Linked DNA regions of Homo sapiens: region 2 is linked to region 1. Evidence: promoter capture Hi-C in 16 types of primary human blood cells and fetal thymus (Javierre and others, 2016). All regions are on one chromosome and are shown on one strand. The core of a region is centred on a gene start or on the middle of the fragment in contact, and the rest is flanking DNA. Distances in the headings are between cores, read along the strand shown.

The links. Contacts are between HindIII fragments. The CHiCAGO score rates a contact against its expected background, and 5 or more counts as called.
Region 2: a fragment that was not itself captured here is called in contact with the fragment with the promoter of GLRX in region 1 in 2 of 17 cell types (M2 macrophages and M1 macrophages); the score reaches 9.3 in M2 macrophages.

What each region holds. Positions count from the first base shown.
Region 1 is chr5:95,819,559-95,826,103 of GRCh38, forward strand. It overlaps GLRX (glutaredoxin), which reads right to left and starts at 3,168. Exons shown (of 3, transcript NM_001118890.2): 1 at 2,898-3,168. The coding sequence starts at 3,104. RefSeq lists enhancers at 1,540-1,679, 3,596-3,685, 3,916-4,416. The HindIII fragment of the contact is 7,969 bases long and covers 1-6,256 here.
Region 2 is chr5:96,293,621-96,300,165 of GRCh38, forward strand. All of the region lies in intron 1 of LOC101929710 (a long non-coding RNA gene), which reads left to right. It also overlaps a transcript of CAST not described here. Among named protein-coding and RNA genes, the nearest start is that of PCSK1, 140 kb to the right of the region's middle. The HindIII fragment of the contact is 3,188 bases long and covers 1,358-4,545 here.

The sequences.
Region 1 (6,545 bases), core at 1,918-4,417:
TCCTGCTGATTACCTACTAGATACAGCTACTTTATAGAATAATTAAGACTGCAGGATCAGGCCGGGCGCCGTGGCTCACGCCTGTAATCCCAGCACTTTGGGAGGCTGAGGCGGGTGGATCACGAGGTCAGGAGATTGAGACCATCCTGGCTAACACAGTGAAAACCCGTCTCTACTAAACATACAAAAAATTAGCCAGGCATGGTGGCAGACGCCTGTAGTCCCAGCTACTCGAGAGGCTGAGACAGGAGAATAGCGTGAACCCGGGAGGTGGAGCTTGCAGTGAGCTGAGATTGCGCCATTGCACTCCAGCCTGGGCACAGAGGGAGACTCCGTCTCAAAAAAAAAAAAAAAAAAAAAAAAACCCTCGGGAGCTTTCAGACCCTTTGAATACAAACACTTCCCTGTTGGGGATCAAACATGCAGCTTTAAAAGGCTTGTTCTTCCCCTAGGAGGAATGCACTCAGAATTCAAGAATCTGTGAAAAACATTTTTCTAAAAATGAAAAACAGGCTTGTTGAGGTGGATCACATCTGTAATCCCAGCACTCTGGGAAGCTGAGGTGGGAGGATAGCTTGAGGCCAGGAGTTCAAGACCAGCCTGGGTAACATAACAAGACCCCCATCTGTACAAAAACTTAAAAAATTAGCTGGGTATGATGGCTCATGCCTGTAGTCCCAGCCACGGGAGGCTGAGGTGGGAGGGTCACTTAAGCCCAGGAGTTCGAGGCTGCAGTCAGCTATCATTGCACCACTGCACTCTAGCCTGGGTGACAGAGCAAGACTCTGTCTCTTAAAAAAAAAAAAAAAAAAAAAAACCTTAAAAGATTACTACAAGAAATATTGTTGTTCTACAAAGAAATGAAAAAGCAATTGTTGACCAGGTGTGGTAGCTCACACCTGCACTTTGGGAGGCTGAGGTGGGTGGATCACCTGAGGTCAGGAGTTCGAGACCAGGTTGGCCAGCATGGTGAAACCCCATCTCTAATAAAAATACAAAAATTAGCTAGGTGTGGTGGCAGGTGCCCGTAATTCCAGCTACTTGATTGCTTGAACCTGGGCGGTGGAGGTTGCAGTAAGCCAAAATCACACCACTGCACTCCAGCCTGGGCGACAAGAGCGAAATTCCATCTCAAAAAAAAAAAAAAAGCAATTGTTAAATGAACACATGAAGAGGTTTGCTTTACCTCCTGGAAAATAGATGCTGTTGGGCTGAGAACAATAATCCCAATTGTGTTGCACATTGGAATCCCCAAGGGATTTTTCCAAATAAAAATCCCAGGTGTGGTGGCTCACCCGTTTAATCCCAGCACTTTGGGAGGCCGAGGTAGGTGGATCGCCTGAGGTCAGGAGTTCGACACCAGCCTGGCCAACATGGTGAAACCCCGTCTCTACTAAAAATACAAAAATTAGCTGGGCATGGTGGTGGGCGCCTGTAATCCCAGCTACTTGGGAGGTTGAGGAGAACCCAGGAGGCAGAGGTTGCAGTGAGCCAAGATTGCACCATTGCACTCCAGCCTGGGTGACAAGAATGAAACTGTCTCAAAACAAACGAACAAACAAAACTAATGCTTGGCTCCCACCTCTGACATTGTGATTTAGTTATTGAGGGGCATAATTTGGGCATAAGGATTGTTTTAAAAGCTCTCTAGGTGATCCTAATGTGCAGCAAAGTTTGGGAACCAATGGCTAAAAGGTCCTCAGGGTGGCAGCCACAGTGGGGCCCGTAGTAGTGTTTGCACTGCCCTTTACACCTCTCAGGGCCTGGGCATCCTATGCAGCTGGTGGTCCCACTAGGCAGCAAGAGCTTCTCTCGTCATTGTGTATACTCCAGGACCTCAGCACACAGCAGTAGGATAACACACTAAGCCCCCTTTCTGCACCAAAATGCTGACTTCTTATTAGAGAGAAGGGGAGAGAAACAACCTCCAATGCTTTATACTCAGAACCCAGAGACAACCTTGTAAGTCAAACTAAAACTGAAATAGGATATGTGCTTGGCCTAACACTGTGCTGTAGAATTCGTGCATCGTAAAAGAGAACTTAGCTGAGCTGGTGGGACATTTCTCATCCCACCTCACAGCAGAACTGATACAGGTGATGTGGCTGGCATCCCTCCTGAAGCCCAGGACGCAAAGCCAAGGATGCTGAAGAGAGGGAAGTCTTTCGGATGGAGGAGAGCAATTTTTAGAGGGTCCCACAGTCTATTCGTAGCAAATGGGACTCTGAGGTCACCTAATCTGGTCTTGCAGCTGGGATCTTTGAGGACTACTGGGGTGGTGACTTGCCCAGGATCACACAGCCAGCCATTATAAGAGCCAGGCCAGAACTCCAGGCTATGATTCCCTACAATGTGGGGCCTGGAAACATCCATAATTAATTTAGAACAAGGGGCAGATAACGGTACATTAGATTTTTCCAGTGGGAGGAATTAGATAAGGAAGAATGAGCAAATTAGAAAAAGAAAGCCTAGAGAAAAGAATGAAGAACATGAATCTCATGTTAAATAACAAACACATCACACCCGGCCCTCCACCCCAGCTTCCACCTCCAGCCCTGCCAACTGAAAACTGTCATTTCCTGGCAGTGCTTAAAACAAAGACTCTAGATAATTCCCCAGGGACTCACCGGCAAGCTGCTGGTCCCACTTACCCTGCCGCACAGCAGACATCAGCTGTACTCCCTCTTCTGCCCCGTGAAGACCTTTGGCTGCAGTGCCGCCGCTCATTCAAGTGACCGAGATCCTCTCTAAGGCGCCCTCCCCCACACCCCCCGCCCCGCACAGCCCTCTGGACGCCTTGAAGTACGGAGCCGCAGCCTTATCCTAAAGAAAGGCACAGCTCTGACAAGAAAAGGCAATCCGGGAGCCTTTCCCTAGCCGTTTAAAATGAAACTCACCGTTCTTGCTCCCGTGAGCTGTTGCAAATAATCTTGAATCTCGTTAGTGTGGTTGGTGGCTGTGATATCGACAAATTCCAGAAGCCCTTGTTTGATGGGCAATTGACTGAGGATCTCTTGGGCCCTCCTGCAGTACGGGCAGGTGGGCTTGATGAACACAACCACCTTCCCAGGCTGGATTTTGCAGTTCACAAACTCTTGAGCCATGCCGATGGGCTGCGGTCTCCCCGGGAAGAATCCTCAGTTGCAGGTATTGCTTGGGGTATTGAGCCCCGACCCAGCCAGTTGGCTCCTATTTAATAAGGAACCTCCCTGGAGGCGGAGTTTGCCTGGTAGCTTGCTCGAGTTTTAAAGGGACAGCTTCGAAGACATTTCCATCTGGTATACTTCACTAGTTAGCAATGCCCAGGAATGCAATACTTGCTATTTAATCATTGGTAGCTATGAAAGACACTCTGGGTATCTTTGTTGTCCTTGGACATTTGGGGAGTGCCTGCCCATTGGCAATGATCAGAGTTTAGTCACCTCTGGGGAAGCATAAAGTGCTTACTCACAAAGGGGCTGAGGAGGCAGTGACTTCTTAGAGCAAATTCTTGTTTTCCCTCTAGGAGATACAGTTGTATTTTAAAATGCAAACAGAATCACTTAAGAAACAGAACACTTGGAAATCTCTTTAGAAGAAGTGAAATTGAAACTGTGACTTTGCACTCCTCATGAAGGTTGCTCTCACAGCATTTTGCTTGGACTGTATGGTGGGTGTTTGTTGTTGTGATCTTTTTAATGGAATTCATTCTCAGTATTTAAAAATCTGGAGGTCTCACAAAACAATTCGGACTTAAAACTTCTCTCTGAAAAGTCAGGTCGGGCAATACAGAGCTTGCACCTTTTAGTGGAAGCTGCTGGGGCTGACAGCTGTTGCCCCCTTTGTATAGGGCAAGTAGTGGCTTTGGTTTGCCACAGGTCCCAACGACAGGCCCATGCCTGAGACACCGGCTTCACCCCATAACCATTTGAGTTGGTAACCCTTGAACAGCAGTTTAATATGGAGGCAAATTCCAACACAATCCTTGATACAAAACTACAGATGAAATGAGAATCTTTTTTTCTGGTTGAGCCTATGTTTGTGACCCTCTGCTTTTAACTGTTTGTGAGGGGAAGTAGTGTTGTAACTCAGACACCACATTCACTTCAAGTGTTATAAGACACGGGTTGTAACAGTAGGAAATCTTTCGCTCTTCCCCAGGGTGCCCATTCTCCTTATCCCGCAAAGCAAAGTCCTCTACTCCTGGGTCTAGTTCCGGCCCCCTCTAGTGTATGGTAGCTTAAATAAACAAATCAAGGAAAAACTATGTCCTTTAAACGTGAATCATCCTTTCCCCAGGAAGTTTTATGGTGAAACCAGAGTATCTTCAAAGAGGCGGGGCCAAGGCCAGAGCTGGACACCACGACTGCCACGTAAGAGGAATCCCAAGCATACTGCGATCAAGGGAAGGGAAGAAAATCCACTCCCAGAAGCAGCTTTTTACTGTGACTCTCATCGTTACTAGAATTAAAATGGCAAAATGAGAAAGCCAGATTCTGAGTCACGGAGGGGGAGCTAAGTGACAGCTCTGTCCAGAGAAAAGGATGTGGCAGGGCTGGGAGGCCCCTCACGTGGTCAGGGCTCCGGACTTCCCACTTCCCACTTCCCTCCAAAGTAGGCTCTGCCACAGAGTCTGAGCCTCCTCTCTTTTTTCATTCTTTTACCTCAGAACCCTGTGGCCAGGCTCCTTCCAGAGGCCCCTGCCAGGAGGTCCAGGGTCTGTTTCAGGGCCCTCAGGCTGTTGCCTTAAGTTCCCTCAGCCTGAGGTTTATCCACACGACTTGCACCTGCTACTCACTCAGAGCCTTTCTCTTCTCCGGTCTGTTGTTGGCTCCTCCCTTCCTGGTGCCTCAGCCTGCCACTGTGTTCAAGTTAAAAGCCACCACCACCACCACCACTCCCCATTTCCTGCTTTCCTGCCTCTGCCCTTTCATGAAATTTACTGTCTGTACCTTTCTCACCTCCATTCTCTCATTTTGTTGTTATCTGACCTTGTCAACCATTCTGCTGAATTGTTGGCAGACACTAATCATGGCCTCTATGTCACCAAATGACCATTTAGCTAGGTATCCTGACCTTTTGCAAATTAGTCACCTGCCCCAAGAGGCTGGGATCCAGGGAGACTATTGTCTGCCTCTCACTCAGTCCCGGGGACTGCCTGGTGTCTGAAGCCTTAGGACAGATGGCCATAAGGCACAAGCTAAAGGCAATTTTTTTGTGAGGCACCATGTGGAAAATGGGAGACAAAGAGATGGCAAAGAACGGGTGTCCTCTCCATTTCTCAGAAAATGCTGTGGCTTCAACTCAGTGAAAAATGACAAGCATAGAAGCCTCTGCTGCATTGTACAGCAGGAGCTGAAACCCAGCATGGACCTTAGGGCATCTCAATGGAAAGCCGCCATGGGGACTGCAGATGCGTCAAGTGCTGTGGATGGAAAGAGGGTGTGCGTGTGGACTAACACGTGTGGACTCTCCTTTGGCTTGTGTGAGACACTCCCAGGCACTCTCAGAAAATACACCTTGGAGGGTGGGAAGTGAGGGCATTTTTTAGGGGAGAATCAGTCCTGCTTTACAGATGGTTGGCAACAAGCTAGTGAAATATGTGTGGTTACTCTTTTTTTTTTTTTTTTTTTTTTTGAGACGGAGTCTCACTCTGTTGCCCAGGCTGGAGTGCAGTGGCACGATCTCTGCTCACTGCAAGCTCCGCCTCCCGGGTTCACACCATTCTCCTGCCTCAGCCTCCTGAGTAGCTGAGACTACAGGCACCCGCCACCATACCCGGCTAATTTTTTGTATTTTTAGTAGAGACGGGGTTTCACCGTGTTAGCCAGGATGGTCTCGATCTCCTGACCTCGTGATCTGCCCACCTCAGCCTCCCAAAGTGCTGGGATTATAGGCGTGAGCCACCGTGCCCGGCCAATGTGACTTCATTTGTACTCACAGGCTGATGAGGGCTGCAAAAAATGTGGCCACAAACGAACATTCTTCAGGGTTTTTCCTTACCCACTGTGCAGGGTTTGACCTTGTAGATCACTGCAGGCCTCTGGAAGTTCTCTTCCCACTGCCCATTGCAGCATGATCTTTTTGCTCTTTCTATTGGATATTGTCTCAGTGTCTTTGTTAAGAATTTTGCCTACACATATGGTCTATCTTGGGGCTTGATCTTCTCATTGTGTACACACCCACTCCTTGAGAGGTCGTAGCTCCACACATGACTCCAGCTGTCAGCTTTTTACTGATGAGCATCACGTTTTTCCTTATCTGGACCTCTCTCCTAAGCTTCAGGGAAGGCTATCTCATTGCCTACTGAAAAGACCCACCTGGGGATTCCTTAGGCCTCTCAGCCTCTAGGCAGCCAAAACTGAATCTCCCCTGAAGCCACCCTCTTTCCTCCATACCTGCTCATTGAGCCTGCATGCACCTTCATGTACCTTTTCGGCCAGGGCGGAAACCTGGCAGGCATCTGTGCTGGCCTCTGCTTTCACTTATGCATAGTGGCCAAACCCTACCAAGTTTGCCTCCTGAGTGCCTCCCTGGTCTGAACACCTGACTGCTCCTGCTGCTCT
Region 2 (6,545 bases), core at 1,702-4,201, 470 kb after region 1:
TCTTTCTTCTCCTTCCAGAGAACTCTAGAAGCACTCAATTTGACTATACTAAGATAGTATTTAGAATATGTGTATTGTTTATAAAAGCTTAGGCCTCATCGTCATATAGTGATGCATAATATAAGTAAATGCCAGATTATTATTATTATTATTTTGAGACACAGTCTTGCTCTGTCGTCCAGGCTGGTGTGCAGTAGCCCAATCTCAGCTCACTGCAACCTCTGCCTCCTGGGTTTTAAGCAATTCTCTCTGCCTCAGCCTCCCGAGTAGCTGGGATTACAGGCACCCAACACCACGCCTGGCTAATTTTTGTATTTTTAGTAGAGATGGGGTTTCACCATGTTGGCCAGGCTGGTCTTGAACTCCTGACCTCAGGTGATCCACCAGCCTCAGTCTCCCAAAGTGCTGGGATTACAGGCATGAGCCACTGTGCCTGGCCCTGAATTATTTTTATTGTAAGTTTCATTCTATTCAAATATTTATTTTACTGAGTCAACTCATTTTTGACTCAATGTATTGCTATGTAAAATGTTCAACTAGCTAACAACTTAAAAAAATTAGATCATGTGCTATCTCTATGCATTGACTTGGGCTGTCTTTTCCTCTGCCTTTGTGTTTATTTCATTCCTATATATAACTCTTTTGGACTTAGAGTCACAATGGTTTGAAGAAAATATGTGGAAGAAAACTGACCTGTTGTTTTTATTTTTAAATTTGCAGTATGCTTCTTCAATGTAGCTCACCTCAGGGAGCATTTTAGAAGTCTTTTCCTGGAATCCTATGAACCCTATGGCATAGAGTTTTATAAATGACTGTTTTGGTTTGACTAGCATGGGTCCACCTGAACCAGTTCTCACTGTAATGTCCAGGAAGTTGATTTGCTTTTCTCTGTCTACACAGAAGAAACACATGTTGTGTAGAAAAGAAATTGCCAGTCTCTGAACATTTCCCTTTGCAGTGTCTGATATAGAAATCTGTAAGCATTTATGCAGATTCTAGAAATATTTGATCTTTCAATATTTTTGCAAGTGTCCAAACCTAAGTGATATGTTTATATACATTTTCTCATTTAAAACAACTAAGTCACCAGCTAAGGTTGCCAGCATTTCGTTGACTATTTCTAGCCGCCAGGCTTTGGAAAGGTCACTCTACTTCACATGGTAGAGGAAAGTAAATAGTTCTGTGCAGCTGTCAGCATAGAGGCCTTCTCACTTGATGTTATTTTCATCCTGTATTGAAATGCTCTATTTCCTGTAACATTAAGTTTTCCAAAATAGAGGGAGAGCAAGGCATATAATATTTGTCTGCTCATGTCACCTTACCCAGGCTACTGGGCACATAAGCATCTCCAGAGGAAAGCTTCATTAGTTGATAGGGAAACAGTCACCAATGTTGTGTTTCTCTATCTGTGGATCATTCACTACAAAGGGAAAAGCTGCTTCCCTGTATTTGTTACTATGGAGAATACTGAAGCAAACAAACTAGTAGAAATTCTCAATAAGAAACTCAAATGCATAATGGAAATAACTTTGTTTTTTTCATGAAGAAAAATAATTGTTACCTTGAGTAACTATAGTGCTTTTTGAATCTCTCTTTTGAATCGAATGCCCCCCATGGAGATGTAGTAAAAATGAACTACTGCTTTTGTGCCTGAGTGGGATAAGCTGATTTTCGAAGGAGACATGCTTGACTTTGGTCCATGTCACACTATTTAGAGGGTGATGGAAAAGTAGTACAATGCAACCTCTTTGAACCAATGAAATCACTGAGGACTTTATGCCCTGGGCATGACACACTTCTTTCAAAAATGGGATTTGATAATGACATTGACAGTGGTAAACAAAAGTGTCTCTTCACTAATTTGAAGACGAGACAAACGATATTTGGAACAAGAGGTTAGTTCCTTATTGCCTAACAGAATTGGGGTGTATCAAATCTTTACTAACTTAGTCATCTCTGAATATTTTAGTCTAGGAAACCAAAATATGTTCGTATCGACCTACGATATTTCTTCAGCTAATGATTACTTCTTTCAGATAATATAACTGGGGATTTATTTGAAATTTTTCCTACTTGCCAGACATAATGGAGATTGAAAAAAATAAGTGTCAATGAAACCGGAATGACAAAAAAGTCCTATGAGAAGTGTCACGTAAAGCAGACTGCTTGTTTCAAAATATTGAAAGTGGAAAAAATACACGAAATGGTATGAGCAGTAAGATGTCCAATTTTGTGTACAAAGGGCATCATGTATGCACACATATATATATATGCACACACACATACACAGACTAAATTGAAAGACTCTGAGTTAACAGTTGTTATGTCTAAATGTGGTATTATAGAAGATTTTAACTCTCTTCTTTGTACTTTACTATATTTTTCAAATGTTCTACCATGAACAGTTGTTACTTTTATAATTAGAGAGAATATAAATGCTATAAAATTCCTAAAGTTTTGTGCAAATGTTTTGTATAGTTTTTCCTGTTTAAGAGGAGCTGTATTATTTCAAGTATAAAACTAGCCAACATGCAAAAAATCTAATTGGATTTCAGATCCCACATTACAATGTTTCCTTCTACAGGGTTTGCTACATTCTCCGGCCTGGTTAGATCCTCTTTTATTTCTCTACATCATGGTCTTTTCACTAGAAATAATACAGTATCTTTGACTTTGCTAGTACCTTCCATTCTTCCCACTGAAAATTGATGTCTGTTAAGTCCCTTTAAAATGTGTTACAAAACCATCTTCAGGAGGCCTTTTCTGGCTAAACCTATCCTAGTTTGATTACTTTCTAATGTAAATCTTCAGCTTATATGTATTAAATTCATAAGATATTACTTTATGGTTGTTGTCATATTGTTTTATAATTCTTTGCAAATTATTTTCTGTTGAAGCATCCTTTTGTGTCTGGAGAATAAATTCTCAGATTATAGAGGATAGGTCTTTGCTATTTTTGTTACCTGCAAAACAACCTGAAGAGTGAATCTATACAAATTTCATGATGCTAAAAATAGATAGTATCAGATAAACCAAGAATCTTGTGAATTGAAACTGAGCAGAGATATTTGGGTAAATTTCTGACTCCTAGTTGCTGGTTGTGTTAACTCTCTGCTGATGTCTGCTCAACTGTGTTGGTTATATCCAGGCTATTGTAATACTGCAGGTTTGGAGGAAAATGTGTCTTTGCTATCTGTTCCTCAGTTTTAATCATGGACTGGTTTTCAGTAACAGAAATGCTAGGAAGTTGTCCCAACTTCAGATTTCATAATGGCTTGCTGACTACCCTCTTGGGCCCTAACTGATGCTTTTCTATTGCTTCTCTACATTCGATAATATTTGGTAATTGGGTTTGCATTACTCTGAATTGTTTTTATGTCTTCTGGTGTCAGTTATAAAATCATAAGAGTTGTAAAACTGGAGTATATTTTCAGTGTGAACAATTAATTACATTCTCTTAGAAAGATTTTAATGCACAAGATAGAAATTAGTTCATTTTTTACATATTTAGACAGCTTTCTGTTCCAGTAGGTTATTTTGTCACTGATGTGTAGCATTTGATAAAGAGTCAGAATTAGCTGGAAAGTTTTGAGCAGGGAATTAATATGACTGAGTGGTTGTCCTTTCCAGGAGAATGTTTTTGAAAGGGAAATTCAAGGAACAACAACTGCTTTATTCAAACGAATAATTTGAGGAAAAACTTGGGGGTAGAGAAGGAAGCAACCTAATAGACAATTTCTTATTTCTACTCTGAGTAAGGTTTTCCTCCATATCCAACCAGATGTAGCAGTGTGTGTGTCTGGTGGCTTTGCTGTTGCTGTGGCAAGCTGCTGCTGGTGAGGGAGAGAACTGGGGTGATGTCATCCCTTCCCTCATCCCAACCTAGATGCTTGACATGAAACAGCTCTTGGGATGAGATTTTTGCAGCAACTCTATCAACCCATGGCACATTTTTTTATGCTCTCCTCATGTCTTGCTGTTAACTAAGCAGGAAGATAAACCTGAGCCAGTGGGAATTAGAAATATATCCTTTGCTAGTGACAGAGGAGGCAAAGATGAACTAGGCTCAAGTAATCTGAAATAGCTATCATTTTTTGTTTGCTTTTATTCTTTTTTTTTCTTTATCTTAAGTAGTGGTATGGCTATGCCTGGCTTCCACGTTTTTAAATCCTAGTAGAACCAACAAAATTTTTCTTCATAGTTTATGGTGTCTTTCCTATAAGACCCGGGAGCACTATATGCAGAACAATTTCTAAATAGAATGCTTGTAAGCAAGTTAGAAATGACTAGAGTTCATCTCCTATGGTCTTTTTTGTGGTGAATGTGCGGGTGCTCTCAGAGAATAGAGAAATGTAGAAGCATCTGATTCACATTCATTTCACTCCAGCCAAACTCCAGTCTTACCACATATACAGATCTGTTGCCACATGGTATTTGCTTAATGCTAAATAGAAATCTTGCTAAACTTTAAACATGTGCGTGTAGCCTGATGACCCTAGGCCCACAGGAATCTTACACAATTCATCCTGGACTTGTTGGAAAAGAAGCTTCTCTGTAGCAATGGTGCAAAACCTGTAAGCCACCGTTACAAAACAGGATGTAAACAATCCAGAGGCCTGGGCTCAGAATATTCTCTTTCTCCTCTTTTGACTTTAAATCTATTTCTTTTAGTTTCTGCTTAGTAAGAAGTGCTCATAGCTGAGTAATACAGACCACCCTTGCTAGACAATCCAATAAATTAATCTTTGTTTCAAATTGCTATTTGGCAGTCATTAACACGGGATAAGAGTAATTGGTCAACTAGATGGCAGAGACAGAATTCTGGATGCAGAAAGGGTATTTGACTTCATTTCTCACTGTTGAAGTAATTGTACTTATTTCTGTGTATTGCTGTGAAGTCCAAATAAGTTATTAAAAGTAAAGTGCTTGGGACAGGGCCTGGCAAATGGGAAGTTTAGCAATTATTATTAATTCTAAATATATTCTATTGGGAATATTAGTGTCATTTTTTTAGTGCCTGAGAACAAATTTGAACTACACTTGACAAATACATAGGCTTTTGAAAACCACTAACTATGGGTTAAGAAACTTTAGTCTGTATGTAGGCTTTTATATCCTTTTCCATCGAAATTGAAACAAATAACAGTTTAAGCCCAAAATACTTGAATAAGGGGTCCACATATTAGCTACTTTAAGCAATTTCAGTTAGGGAGAAGATTTATGAAAAATGCTAAGCTCTCAGGACCCTAAATTAGGAGAGTGTGTGTGTGTGTGTGTGCCTTAAAAATTAAAGACAGAATTCTCTATTTCTAAAAAGGCCTAGTAAATTTTTAACTGGGCCAGGAGCAGTGGCTCACACCTGTAATCCCAGCACTTTGGGAGGCCGAGGCGGATGGATCACCTGAGGTCAAGAGTTCAAGATTAGCTTGGCCAACATGATGAAACTCCGTCTCTACTAAAAATACAAAAAAAAAATTGGCTGGGCGTGGTGGTGGGCACCTGTAATCCCAGCTACTTGGGAGGCTGAGGCAGTAGAATTGCTTGAACCCGGGAAGCAGAGGTTGTAGTGAGCCAAGATCGCACCATTGCACTCCAGCCTGGGCAACAAGAGCAAAAAACTCAGTCTCAAAACAACAACAACAACAACAACAACAACAACAACAACAACAACAAACAAACAAAAAACATGTAATTGATTCATTAGCTGGATCTGGGATCAAAGGCAATGAAGCACCAAAAAAAGAAGGCAATAGAAAAAGACTGAAATATTCTAATAGTGTCACTTTAAAGTGGTTAGCCATGGCTTCTAGTAGCTAACTGAAACGGCTGGGGGAGCAAATCACAGTGTTAGAAAATATCACAATGCCCTTCTCTTTGGTAAAGTTGTACTTCTTGGCTCCCCTGCTCCCATGCTCCTGTTGAGTGCAATCCTCTTTCCTCCTCCACAGCACACTGGTCCCTGCTTTGTTGAAGCATGCATATTTCATAGAAGCACTACTACTAGAAGCTCTGGGTAAATGACCCTGATATGAAGTAATATTTATCTTCAGCATTCACGTATACATCCATAGCATGTGGTTTGGTAGAAAATTTGTCTAATAAGACTATGCTTTATAATTTCAGTGCTATGTGAATTTTATTTTCTATTGTATTTATTTTTATTATATATTGACAAGTTATAGTTGTATATATCTTTGAGGTACAAAGTGATGATGTGATTTTTTTTGTGGAATGATTAAATCAAGCTAATTAACATATCCATCACCTCAAATATTTAACAGTTTTTTAACAGTTATTTAACAGTTTAACAGGTTCCTTGCACATTTCTTTATCTAGTTATTTCTTTTCTTTACAGTTGTTTGAGTTGCTTATGTATTTTGGATATTAATTCCTTATCAAATGTATGGCTTGCAAATATTTTCTCTCAATTTGTAGGTTATCTCTTGATGCTGTTGTTTCCTCTGTTGTGCAGAAGTTTCTTATTTTGTTGTAATCTCATTTACCTAGTTTTGCTTTTGTTGCCTATATTTTTGGGGTCAACTATA